3 separate regions of the Homo sapiens genome follow, and all the other regions are linked to region 3. The links are contacts of gene promoters, found by promoter capture Hi-C in blood cells and fetal thymus (Javierre and others, 2016). All regions are on one chromosome and are shown on one strand. The core of a region is centred on a gene start or on the middle of the fragment in contact, and the rest is flanking DNA. Distances in the headings are between cores, read along the strand shown. Region 1 overlaps REXO5 (RNA exonuclease 5). Region 2 has its middle 32 kb from the start of METTL9. Region 3 holds the start of ZP2 (zona pellucida glycoprotein 2).

What was found. Contacts are between HindIII fragments. The CHiCAGO score rates a contact against its expected background, and 5 or more counts as called.
Region 1: a fragment that was not itself captured here is called in contact with the fragment with the promoter of ZP2 in region 3 in 1 of 17 cell types (naive B cells); the score reaches 5.4 in naive B cells.
Region 2: a fragment that was not itself captured here is called in contact with the fragment with the promoter of ZP2 in region 3 in 5 of 17 cell types (naive B cells, total B cells, total CD4 T cells and 2 more); the score reaches 15.0 in naive B cells.

Annotation. Positions count from the first base shown.
Region 1 is chr16:20,843,122-20,847,335 of GRCh38, reverse strand. It overlaps REXO5 (RNA exonuclease 5), which reads right to left. Exons shown (of 20, transcript NM_030941.3): 16 at 3,310-3,402; 17 at 2,491-2,707; 18 at 2,095-2,282; 19 at 997-1,115. Among named protein-coding and RNA genes, the nearest start is that of REXO5, 39 kb to the right of the region's middle. The HindIII fragment of the contact is 2,208 bases long and covers 1,523-3,730 here.
Region 2 is chr16:21,564,711-21,569,479 of GRCh38, reverse strand. No RefSeq gene overlaps it. Among named protein-coding and RNA genes, the nearest start is that of METTL9, 32 kb to the left of the region's middle. The HindIII fragment of the contact is 1,772 bases long and covers 2,628-4,399 here.
Region 3 is chr16:21,209,214-21,213,928 of GRCh38, reverse strand. ZP2 (zona pellucida glycoprotein 2) reads left to right here and starts at 2,355. Exons shown (of 19, transcript NM_001376232.1): 1 at 2,355-2,443; 2 at 2,534-2,622; 3 at 3,737-3,820; 4 at 4,204-4,298. The coding sequence starts at 2,382. The HindIII fragment of the contact is 1,261 bases long and covers 1,590-2,850 here.

The sequences.
Region 1 (4,214 bases), core at 1,377-3,876, 370 kb after region 3:
GCCTCCCAAGTAGTTGGGACCACAGGCACACAACACCAAACCTGGCTGGGTTTTTTTTTTTTGTTTTTTTTTTTGTGTGTGTGTTTTTGGTAGAGACAGGGTCTTGTCATGTTGCCTAGTCTGGTCTTGAACTCCTGAGCTCAAGTGCTCCGCTCACCTTGGCCTTCTAAAGTGCTAGGATTATAGGCATGAGCCACTGCGCCTAACCAGATGTCAGAATCTCAAGGGACTTTTAAAAATTAACACAACCCAAGGTTTTCACACTGTTCAAAAAAGCCACCATCTTTCCCTCCCTTCCCCAATATACACTCATTCATTTAGCTGCCCACTCACTCATTCCAAAACTGCCCATCTTTATGCTTTAAGATTTAATATCAGTTTTTCTTTAAAGAAAGGGTTTACAGTTAAAAGGGTTTGAAAATCAACTGATTTATTCCAAATCCCTCATGTTACTAAAAGGACATTGAGACCTACAGTGGGGAAGTAGCTTGGCCACTTGTCAGAGGAGATAGGTGATAAAGCTGCAACTAGACTCAAAGTCCTGCTCCAGTATTCCTCAGGCTTAGAATCAGCAAACCAGGCCCTGTTATCTCTTAAAACATAGGTGTCAATGGGGAAAAGGGTACAGAAGGCAGGAACACATTCCTCACATGTAGAGTGGTTACACCTAAGCCTAGGGCTTGTTCTGAGACTTTACTTTTTTTACTCAAGTGGGGTTAGCAGCTACTTCTTACTCCAGAGAGCAGTAAGGACATAAGACTCCTGGTTTTAACTGGGGATAAATTATCTCCTTGAGGGACCAATAAATGTAGTTATACAAGAGCATATAAATGTGAAATGGGAATACAATGCCTATCTTTTAGAACGGTGAAAATTAAAGAGATGATTCATGTAAGTCCTCACTATGTGCCTAAATATCAGCAAAAGGCTTTTTCTCTAAGAACAGCTGAAATCCAGGGGACAGAGTCCTGAAGGGATACCCTTTCTAGTCCTTACCTCTTGGTTCCTGGCAGCAGGATGAGGCAGAGAGTGCCCGGGCACAAGCTGTTGTAGAGCTTTCCAATCTTCCGGCTCCAGCGCCAGGCTGCTATCTTCGGGTGGTCCAGTTTCAGAGTCTGGGATCAAAGCCATGTGTCGATACTCAGCCAGAACACTCTCTCGTTACCTTTGGAAGGGCTGCAACACTCTTCCTCTGCCTCTAAGGCTATGGGATTCCAGTAAAGGTTCCAGACAAATCCCTTTTCTAACACTGGAGCCCACACTGCAGGTTCTCTGCTGACCCAGCATCCCCAGGCCTCCAAGTTGGCTAAGGACTTCCTCAGGGGAGGACAGCTACTGTCCTTTCCTCCACATGGGTCTTCCAAGACCCCAAGCTAGGGGAGCCACATTGCTGATGAGGGGTCTAGTCTGGCTTCTGCCATTAAGTCTCTTTGTGACCTTGGGCAAGTGACTTACCAACTCTAGCCCCTACTTTTCATCTGTTAAGTATGAGAGATTAGACTAAGACAGGGTTTCCCAAGCTTCAGCCATTTACCTTCTACCTCCACTCTTCTGCTTGTATATCCCTCTAACATTTTTCCATAAAGTGAGTTAATTTCTTCCTTAGCCTTGTCTAACTAATGCCATCCACAAAATCATAGGCTCAATGTAGTTATTGTATACTTTAACAAGTATTAGCAAAACAAGTCCATTCAGATGTCTTAGATATAATAAAAAGACGGACAAGTCCATAATCATAAAAGTGAAAACAAAAAAGAAAAGACCATCTATGACAACCACAATTTATCTTGTGTATATACCACACTTTGGGAAACCCTAGACTAGATCACTGAATAATTGTCCAGCTCTCTGACTTCCTGCCTTTGTCCTTCAAAGTCCCTTGGAGATCTGGAAGACTAAAAAACTAAGTTTAGCAGGTATGGTGGGGGCAAAAGTATGAGAGATCTGCGAGAAAAGATGTGGCCAGGACTGGAGGAAGCTGGAGAGTGAAATAAGACTGAGGGCCAGGGTAGAAAAAAAAAAAAGATTAAAGGATTAAGTGTCACTGAGCAGGACTCTCCTGACATCTTCTCCAAGACGCCTTCACTCACTCACCTGCAAGGCCTCCTGTTCAAAGGGGGGAGGTACAACACGAAGCCCTGGGAGCCTTGTTGATTCAGGTGGTAAGCCTCTGAGCCAGGCATGGAGGTGCCTGGGGGTTAGGGCATGCCTGCCTTTCAGCTTCCAGTCCTTGCCTGTGAGAATGTTGAGGGCCTGCTGGGCACTGCCAAAACTTTTGAATTCTGAAAGCAAGAACCCCCACCTTATGTTATTAAGGGCCAAGAAAGCTGATCACCATCCAAGCTGCCTGGCCAGGGTCAAAGGAGAAGGACAGAATCAGGAACTGCTGCCCTGGTCCAGCCCAGGAGGTGAATCTTCCTTTCTCTGACCTCATGTTATCACCATCCCCAGTTTCCTTCCCCAAAGCTACATTCAGTAGCATAGACTTACTCAGGAAACAGTATTTTTTCTGCTTTCCACTTTTAAGATCTTTAGGCAAGATCACAGCTTCCAGGCCAAGAAAGAGGCGGGGCTCCTGCAATAGCTGTTCTTTGAAGGTTTCACTCACTCCAGACAGATATATAGAGCCTTGGTTTTCAGAATCTCCTTCCAGCTCATTCACGAGGGTGTCACAATCAAGCGTGAGCTCTGTCACAGGCCTCTGCACCTAACCAAGGAAAGTTGGTGTTAGTGGTAGAAAATCAATTTAATCCTCAGGCCTATTGGATACTAGCAAGTTGTTGCCATTACTAATAACTTCATTTTTCAGTTTCCTAAAATTTTCCGTTTCTTTTCTTTTCTGTAAAAGGAAACTAAAGATAATGGCCTCACAGAATTATGTTAGAGACTTAATTGATAAATACATATTTTCATGTAAACATATTCTCTTCAGTTTCCTGCCTCCCACCCTTAATGAAATTCTGTTTATGTGCACAAGAAACTTCAAAATACCACCATTTGATCTCCCTGAAAGGTGAAGAAAAGGGTAACCACAAAGAACCAACCAGAATAAACCACAGGGGACTTAAGTAGTAACAAAGAATGCAAGGAAGACCCAAATCTAGCCCAGGATGATTTCTGACACAAATGAAAGCCGTTATGTCTTCAATCACTGCCAGTAGGAGAATGTTAGACTTGGCTGAAGACTTTCCATAACAAAGTCTTGTGCGTGGGCCTCTTGAGAGTGTTTCCTATATGTCCTGGGGCACTATAAATACAGGCTGTGGTAGGCCAGACCCAAGCAAAGGGGGCTTTCTCTTGTCACCCTACCTTGATGCAGATACCATCTACCAGAATACCATCCAAGGATTCTATGGCCAGCTGGGCAGCTTCTAGGACTTCATACTGTATACAGAGATGAGGCTGCAGAAAGACCAAGATTTCCTCATCATTGCTTTCCAGCTCAAACTGCTAAAGAAGGGGTTGGGGAAAGGATTCAAACTACAGTGGCCAAAGCCACCAGAATGGATGCCTTTACTGTGCTGGGCTACACAAGTATTGATTGTAAACTGTCAACTTTAAATGGGATCATCAAAGTTCAGAAACTAGCTTTCAGACAACAAATAACTTTGTCATTTAAAATGGAACTACCCAACAGGCTTTTCATAATATTTATTATGCATCACTAAAGTCATCACTGCAAGTCACGGGCAGAGATTCCCATTTGTCTTTTGGCTTAACTTTATAAGCTTGGGAAGGATAAGTTCTTCCACTGGATAGGCTACATCTTCAAATGGTCTGCTTTTCTGTTTGTTAACTCGGAGTAACTAAATCTTTGTGATTATCTGAGCCATAGCATCAATATGGAGATAAAAGCCTTCCCATAGAAAAGTTTCATGACACTGGATTTGGCAATGGTTTCTTGAATATGACATCAAAGGCAGGCAACAAAATTAAAAATAGACAAATTAGACTTCATAAAAATTAAAACCTTTTGTATATCAAAGGACACTAACAGCAGTGTCAAAAAGCAACCCACAGAATGGAGAAATAGTTGCAATCACATAGCTAATAAAAGATTAATATCCAGAATGTACAGAGAAATCCTACAATTCAACAATAAAAAAGCCAAACAACCTGATTTAAAAATGGGCAAACACTGCAGAGTAGCTGGAACTGAAAAAAATAAATAAGAAAAAAAGGGCAAACAAGTGAATAGACTTTGCTGTAAAAGA
Region 2 (4,769 bases), core at 2,264-4,763, 350 kb before region 3:
CTATGAAACCATTTAAAAAGTAAGAGATTTTGGCCAGGCACAGTGGCTCATGCCTGTAATCCCAACACTTTGGGAGGCCAAGGCGGATGGATCACTTGAGGTCAGGAGTTCGAGACCAGCCTGGCCAACATGGTAAAACCCCGTCTCTACTAAAAATATAAAAATTAGCCGGGTGTGGTGGCAGCCACCTGTAATCCCAGCTACTCCAGAGGCTGAGGCAGAAGAATTGCTTGAACCCAGGAGGTGGAGATTGCAGTGAGCCAAGATTGTGCCACTGCACTCTAGCCTGGGTGACAGAGTAAGACTCAGTCTCAAAAAGAAAAAAAAAAGTAAGATATTTTATCAAACAGTTTTGATTCTTTCAAATTATGGATAGCTGAGTCACCCCTACCTTCCAGTTGCTCATACCAGAGGAAGCTGACATGTCAACCTGTGATCACAATGCCTGGTGAAAAATGCAACAGCTACAACAGAGGACCAAGGATGGGGACAAAGGCACAAAGGATAGGCACGTACATGTGTGTACTTGTAATAATTTATCTTGAAATTACCATCCAACAGGTTTTTATTTTTTTTTTAGAGTCTGAGTCTTTCTCTGTTGCCCAGGCTGGAGTGCAGTGGCACAATCATGGCTCACTGCAGCCTTGAACTCCTGGGCTCCAGTGATCCTCCCACCTTAGCCTCCCAAATAGCTAGGACTACAGGCACGTGCCACCACACCCAGCTAATTTTTTTATTTTTTGTAGAGACAGGGTCTCGCTATGTTGCCCAGGCTGGTCTCAAACTTGTGGCCTCAAGCAATTCCCCCGCCTTCGCGTCTCAAAGTGCTGGGATGACAGGGGTGAGTCACTGCATCTGGCCCATCCAACAGGTTTTAAACAAAGTGGTAGGATCTGTGCATTCCTTTCTAGTACTAAACTTACTTCCATTCAACACACTTAGAGGTTACAAGAGGAAACCAGGGTTAATAATATTATTCAGAAGTGACATGGCCTGATTTTCTGCTAAGAACTTTCACGAAGCCCAAAGATTCCTATGGTTCTCAGTTACATTCCAGATAGATTGTATTTTTCATTTAAATCATGCACAGTAAAAGGGGGCCCTTGATTACTTAGAGGCTGATTGTCCAGTCTGCAGCTTCTTTTTGGTGACATGGGTTATCTAAAATAGCACCTTATTAATTCTACCAATTGAGGAAAGATGTGAAAAAGTCAAACTATATGATAGAAGAAGAGGAGGCAGTTTGTTACATTTTCATACTAGAACCAATGGCTATTACCAGAACCTCTGTATATAACTTATTCATCTAAAAAAAATAGGTCCCATGTGATTATTAATGTGCTAGGCACTGGACTAAATACTGGGTATTCAATGGTAGGTGAAACTGCTAAAGTCTCTATCTTCATGGAGCCTACCTACCTCCTAGTGTGCGAGATAGGTCTTATTTAAATAGTCATAAGTTTGATTTACACATGATTATATAAGATGACTGTAGAAAGTGCTATGATAGAAAAACAAGGTATTAAATGAGAGCTCATTGTTAGAGGGTCTGGCTCATGCTGGGCAAGTGGAGGCCAGAGAATGCTCCCCAGAGGAAATATTTGAGCTGAGTTCTAAAGGACAAGTAGGCATTAACTAGGAGGGTTCTGCCTAGAATCATGTGCAAAACCTCCGGCCACCACTACCTCCTCCTCTAAAAGCCACAGCTGGAGCCAGGCATGGTGGCTTATGCCTGTAATCCCAACATTGTGGGAGCCCAAGGCAGGCAGATTGCTTGAGCCTAGGACTTCAAGACCAGCATGATCAACATGGTGAAACCCCATCTCTACAAAACATACAAAAATTAGCTGGGTGTAGTGGCGCTCAGCTGCAGTCCCAGCTACGCAGGGGGCTGAGGTGGGAGGATTGCTTGAACCTGGGAGGCAGAGGTTGCAGTGAGCCGAGATCATGCCACTACACTCCAGCCTGGGTGACAGAGCAAAACCAGAAGAAGAAGAAGATAAAAGATAAAAGCCATAGCTGGGAATGTCCTTGGTGCTCTGAACTGGATGACATTTGTTAGGCATGGCCATCCCACAGACTCACTGCTCCTCAAGATCACCCTTCAGTTATCCAAGAACTGATGGTTACCTACCCATGCTCTGCTCTTCTGCTGCTACTTTCTGGGCTCTGAGATGACCACAGAGGCCAGGGTCAAATGCTGGGCCACTCACCACATACTGATGATGCTGTCAAAATGTGGTTACCCTTCTGCTCCACCTCAATTATCTGTGGAAAACCTAATTTAAGGGGTATATGGTGTTTTGTCTGCCCGCATTTCTTCCTGTAAGAAACACGCTTTCCCCTCTTCCCTAGTAAACTGTCTCAGTCCTTACGAGTTGGTGGAGCTGGACTGCCTCACTTCCATCCCCAAGGTCAGGTACATGCCCAGATCTGGTCAGAGGACTTCATGTGTCAAGGTACAACTACTGCCTCAGCCATGAGCACTTGACTCATACAGTGCCCATTAGCGTCCACCTGGGGACTTTTTCTGTGCTACTGGAACAAAAGTGCATGTTTCCTCACCATCTTGGGCTGTTAGCCCTATGTGAACATGGAGGTATCTTGCTGCCATGCGATGAAAAGCTTATACACAACGCAGAGGGTAAGTCAGAGAAACTAGTTAATGACATAATTTGAGATCCAAATCTGCCTGACTTTTCAGCTACAGAAGCCAATAAATTCCCTTTTTTTTCTTTTTTTCTTTTTTTTTGAGACAGAGTCTCACTGTCGCCCAGGCTGGAGTACAGTGGCGTGATCTTGGCTCACTGCAACTTCCACCTCCCGGGTTCAAGTGATTCTTCTGCCTCAGCCTCCAGAGTAGCTGGGACTACAGGCGTGCACTACCATGCCTGGCTAATTTTTTGTATTTATAGTACAGGCAGGGTTTCACCGTGTTGCCCGGGCTGGTTTAGAACTTCTGACCTTAGGTGATCCACCCGCCTCGGCCTCCCAAAATGCTGGGATTATAGGCATGAGCCACTGTTCCCAGCCCGAATTCCTTTTTTATTTAAGCTAACCTGCATTGAATTTCTGTCACTTGTAGCCAAAGTGGTTTGAATAATGCACCTTTCCAATTGGCACTTGTGCCCAAATTACCATAAACTGGCTGTCTCTGACCACTCTAGGGAAAGGATTCAGTGATTTCTAATTGACCACTACCAGTGAAGACATGGGAGGTTTGAAATAGCTGAGCCCAGATTCTGAGAACGACAGGACAAGGTCATGATTGTACTTTTGAACTTGATGTTGGAGGTGTTCACAAGCATGACGCCTCTCCTGGACTTTGTTTACTGATAGGAACCACAAGATAGACGAGACAGCAGAATTAGGCCAACAATGGGTGCAAGGTGCCAAAAAGGTAATAGAAACCCAAGTTCCACTTTGAAGCAGCATAAATCAGACATTTCTCAAACATTAAAAACGGAAGTGGCCTGATCAAGACCTTTAAACGGAGTAAAAAGCCACGAAGCCAAGGCCTTGAGCAGCTAGTCAGAGAATTATTGCAATATGTGCTCAGAGACACAGGGTTTCATGAAAAGCCCAGTCTCTGCCTGGCTGCAGCACCTCTGTGCTTTTTGTCCCAGCATTTGCTTAGCAGCAGAACCTCATTATCCTTCAGTGTTCTGTAGTTATAACAGATTCCAGCTTCAGGGGGAAAAAAATGGATTCCAGCTGCCAGGGGTTCTCTCTGGGAGATTTTCTATCTCTGAGACGAAATTGTCTTTTTCTCCCTTTTTTCATGGTGAGAGGGGCATGGAGTACACCTCTGATAATCTGCAGAGGCAAAGCCTTGCATGAGCATGCTGACAACCCTGCAGAGAGAAAGCCTTAGGCTGGAAGTTCAAGGGCAGCCAGGAGAATGAACATTTCGATGAATAAAGCAATTTGATAACTACCATGTTGTGGTCTAAGACCCACCACTTACAGGCTTACATGGTGATTACTGAAGCTGCAACTATTTTAATGGCTTCATCTACTTTAAAGTACTGGTGATTTTTCTACTACTTCATTTAATTGCTTGATGTTTCTTGGAAGAGTTCTTCGGTCTTTCTGCTAAAATGTTATCCCAAGCTAGGAGAGATGCCATGATTTCAGAGAATTTCTTTTCCTCTATAATATTATATATTTTCCTCTGGGTTATCAATGAACCTACTGACTACTTTGAGTATTATGCCTTTAGGATGTCTTCACCTCTCATTTCCTTAACATTTTTAAATGAATCTCTGATAGAAAAATGAATCTGAAGCCTTGCTTATGCTTTGATTCATTCAACAAATATTTATTGCACACTTACTGTTTTAGATGCCTGGGATACAGAGTAAATAAATCAACAATGATCCTTGCCTTCAACAAAGCTTACATTCTGGTGGAGGCAAAGAGATAATACATAAATAAATTTAATATCATCTTTTGTAATAATAACCATTACACCTCTGCTTATGAAAAAAATTGCATTCAATTTTTGCTCACAATCTTCTTTTTTTTTTTTTTTTTTTTGAGACAGAGTCTCACTCTGCCACCTAGGCTGGAGTGCAGTGGCATAATCATACTTCACTGCAACCTCTGCCTCCTGGGCTCAAGTGACCCTCCTGCATCAGCCCCACAAGTAGCTGGGACTACAGATGCATGCCACAATGCCCAGCTAATTTTTCTATTTTTTGTAGAGATGGGATTTTGCCATGTTTCCCAGGCTGGTCTTGAACTCCTAGGCTCAAATGATCTGCCTA
Region 3 (4,715 bases), core at 1,106-3,605:
CTCACGTCTATGCTCCTTTTTCCTCTAATGTCTTATCATAGTCTTAACCATTGTGGCAATAAATTATATTTGTAGAAAAGGTGCCACTTTTCAGAAAAATATGCATAGAAGGAGAAACTATTGCTATCATGCTTTGGCTATAAAATGAAATCCTTTTACCATCTCTATCCCCAAAAACTTATCTGTATTTTGCTCCTTCTTCCCAATTCCGCTGGGATGTAATCTACTCAATTCCCGTAAGGAGGTTAACCACTGGCCACCACAGATTTTCTCGCCTCGCTCCCTCCAAGTATTTTCCAGGTTTTCCTGATTATAAGAATCACCTGTGGTGCTCGTTAAGTAAATATTTCCCAGGCACATCTTCTGGAGAGTCTAATTCAGCAGCTTTTGGGTGGGACCCTGGAATCTGTGATATTAATGAGAGCTCCATGTGATCCTTTTGATCAAGGAAGTCAGGGAAACAGTTAATCTCCAATGTTATTTCAGATGCCTCAGGTTACACCTCAAAGGCAACACATGAATCAATACAGTTTAGGATGATGCAAAAATAATTGCAGTTTTTGCCATTAAAATTAGTGGCAAAGGGCCGGGCACAGTGGCTCACGCCTGTAATCCCAGCACTTTGGGAGGCTGACACGGTTGGATCACTTGAGGCCAGGAGTTCGAGACCAGCCTGGCCAACATGGTGAAACCCTGTCTCTACCAAAAATACAAAAATTAGCTGGGCTTGGTGGTGGGCGCCTGTAATCCCAGCTACCCGGGAGGCTGAGGCAGGAGAATCGCTTGAATCCAGGAGGCAGAGGTTGCAGTGAGCCAAGATTGCGCCACTGCACTCCCACCTGGGCAACAGAGCAAGACTCCATCTCAAATACATACATACATACATAAAAGTAGCGGCAAAAACTGCAATCACTTTTGCACCAGCCTAATAATTGCAAGTGTCACCCACCACTTGAATGGAGTCTAAGCCTTATATCCACCTATTTTGGAACATGGGCTGCAGACATCTAGTTATCTCAAAGAGTGTGAGAGATGTTGAAAAAACACAACCATCAGGCCTCAGGAAATCTGAGTTCTCCACCTGGTCCCTGACATTGTTGGGGCAAGTTGCCTTGCCTCAGTTTCCCCACTGGGAAACTTCCAAGTGCTTTACAACAATATAACATTCTTATTAGATCACTACTCCCTTTTACCCAGAAGTTTTACTTTGAGGAATTTATCTTGAGGGTTACCCAAGGATATGTATCAGAATGCTCATCATGTTACTGCTTATAATGATGAAAAATTACAAGCCACCTTATGCTCATAATTAAGGAAATTATATAAACACAGATTTATCTCAAATTGAATATTATGCCACCCTAAAATGGTAACAGAGAGCTTTATGTTTAATAGTTATAAAGTGACAGTAGCAGATTACAAAACAGTATTTAAACTTTCCTCCCAGTGTTTTAAAAAAATTGTGTGTGGTGTTTGTAGAAACATGTCTAAAGTTACTCACCTAAATATTAGCAGTGGCACTATTATGAGTGACTTTTGCCTTTTCTCTGTATCCTTCTGAAATTGTATCTTTGCGGTAAGCTTAAGCTTTTACACTTGGGGGTCAACAAGGCTTCATTCATTTTTTTAAAGACACTTCCTGTGCATTATCAGGGTAACTTCTGCAGTAGCCAGAAGACTAGATGTTACTTAAAAGGTTTTAGGGTAGGTGCAATGGCTCACGCCTGTAATCCCAGCACTTTGGGAGGCCGAGGCACGTGGATCACCTAGGTCAGGAGTTCGAGACCACCCTGACCAACACGGTGAAACCCAATCTTTACTCAAAATACAAAAATTAGCCAGGTGTGGTGGCGTGCACCTGTAATCCCAGCTACTCAGGAGGCTGAGGCAGGAGAATTGCTTGAACCCAGGAGGCAGAGGTTGCAGTGAGCCGAGATTGCACCAGTGCACTCCAGCCTGGGTGACAGAGTGAAACTGAATCTCAAAAAAAAAAAAAAAATGTAGTGGTGTGAACAAGACTTGTTTTTTTCTCAATAAAGCCCATGATTCTCTTTGGCTCTACATTGCAGTTGTAAATAATTTGCCCAAAAGATCCTAATTTCCCCCATAGTTATAGGGAAAACACCAATTCACTCACCTGGAGCTGATTTCAGCAAACTCTGATTTCATGCCTGGCCCACAGGGCAGCTGGCAGAATACCCGGCGCAAGCTGTCAGGAATCAGAGGCCACTTCCTTCCCCAATCCTTCCGTTTCAGCTGGGAGAATGGGACAAGATTCAGGTGCCCCCAATGGGGAGAGGGTGTGGATGCGGCTGGCTTCCTGCTATAAAAACACAGAGCAGCCTACCCTCTACCTGGTTGATCTGGTAGTGTCTTCTGCTATGGCGTGCAGGCAGAGAGGAGGCTCTTGGAGTCCCTCAGGCTGGTTCAATGCAGGCTGGAGGTGAGTAATTCTGGAAGTGGAGGGAGGGGGTATGGTAGCTTTGTTTGTTAAAGTCCATTCTTCCTTGACTATCTCCCTGTCTCTTTCCAGCACCTACAGGTCGATTTCTCTCTTCTTCGCCCTTGTGACTTCAGGGAACTCCATAGATGTTTCTCAGTTGGTAAATCCTGCCTTTCCAGGTATGTCTCTTGGGTGACAGAAGTCTTCTTAGCAGAGAAAACAGGTTGCAGCTGGAAGGCCTAGCTGGCCAAGAAACACAGGCCTGGCTCAGACAACCTCCATTCACCCCCTTTATTACCTTGGTCAGGTTACTGGATCTTTCTTCTGCTAACCTGTAGACTCACTATACCTGCTAAATGAAAACTCAAACACTTGCACTGCCTTCCAATCCCTCACTGCCTCAAGCTTTATGGTATCCACAGAACAGCAAACCACCACACTAAGCCCTCATCTTTAGGAGCAGCAATCTTCAAACACAAACTCATGCTTAAGGAAAACATCGACATAACAAGCAAAACTGGAGCTGCTCACTTGACGTTCACCTGAGCCAGAGGCTGCAGAGTAGCAGATGATGGGCAAAACTTGATCTTTAAAAAAAAAAAAAAAAATGCAGCCAGGCGCCGGGGCTCACGCCTGTAATCCCAGAACTTTGGGAAGCCAAGGCGGGCAGATCACCTGAGCTCAGGAGTTTGAGACCAGCCTGGCCAATGTGGTGAAACCCCATCTCTACCAAAAATACAAAAACTAGCTGGGTGTGGTGGTGGGCACATGTAATCCCAGCTACTTGGGAGGCTGAGGCAGGAGAATCGCTTGAACCTGGGAGGCGGAGGTTGAGGTGGGTTGAGATCGTGCCACTGCACTCCAGCCTGGGTGACAGAGAGACTCCGTCTCAAAATAAATAAATAAATAAATAAAAGTCCTGGGACTTACCCAGGACTTTGTTTAACATCAATTTGCAAAACCTGTTGACAAAGCTTTTGTCAGTTTTTCGGGCCTGCCTCCATCTGCTCCACTGTCAAGGTGTTGACCTGGCTCCTACAGACCTGCTTGTCAACCCTAACCTGGGCTTCTTACTGGAACACTTCAAAAGCCCTGGGTACCTGATATTTTCCTTACAGTTCTTGGCATATTGTATTGTTGTCTTGGTCACTTGTTTGTGAGCTCTCCCAGGGTAGGGGACGATTCTTGCCTCCCTCATCTGGAATCCCTCCCATCTGAGAGGAGTCTATACACTTTTGTAGGAGTTGCATCACTCATGACTCAAAGCCCCCAAATGCTTCCTTTGCTCCTTAGGCACTGTCACTTGCGATGAAAGGGAAATAACAGTGGAGTTCCCAAGCAGTCCTGGCACCAAGAAATGGCATGCATCTGTGGTGGGTAGGTAACGTGTGTTATCTCCTCATAGTCCTGATTAGCAGACAGCCTTTGGCTTAGGTCAATCCTGTTTGGGGAGCAGAGTACCCAAACTCCTGCAGCAACGGCATCCAACTCCCATGATGCCATGGGGATACCTGATTTGCATGAAGCCACCCAGCATGGAAGACCTGTCTGTCTTCGAAAGTGTGTCTTATGCCAGCATCTCTGGGAAGCCTCTGGCTGCAAGTCATACCATCTCAAAGCTCAAGTTCTATCACTGAGTTGGGGCGGAAGTGAAGGGACTGAAGTACCTTAGAAATGGACTGGTGGTCTTGACTCTATAGCTTTGGACTGTCACTGAAATGTACTCAGCCATCCTGTCTAACCTGCTCTGGCCTTGGCAGATCCTCTTGGTCTCGACATGCCGAACTGCACTTACATCCTGGACCCAGAAAAGCTCACCCTGAGGGCTACCTATGATAACTGTACCAGGAGAGTGGTAAGTCATTGCTTTGAGCAGTTCTTGGGGAAGTACGTAGTAACCTAAGAGTTACTGGCAGTAAACTTGGCTAAGAACTTTCTCTTTGGAGTAAAGCAGTGGCTCTCAACCAAGGGGGTGGTGTCTCGTGTGTGGCTCTTCTTTTCTATTATAATCTGTCTAGGCCAGGTGTGATGGCTCACGCCTATAATCTCTGCACTTTAGGAGGCTGAGACGGGTGGATCACCTGAGGTCAGAAGTTTGAGACCAGCCTGGCCAACATGGTGAAACCCCATCCCTACTAAAAATACAAAAAACTAGCTGGGTGTGGTAGCACACACCTGTAATCCCAGCTACTTGTGAGGCTGAGGCAGGAGAATCGCTTAAACCCAGGGGACAGAGGTTTGCAGTGAGCTGAGATTGCTCCATTGCCCTCCA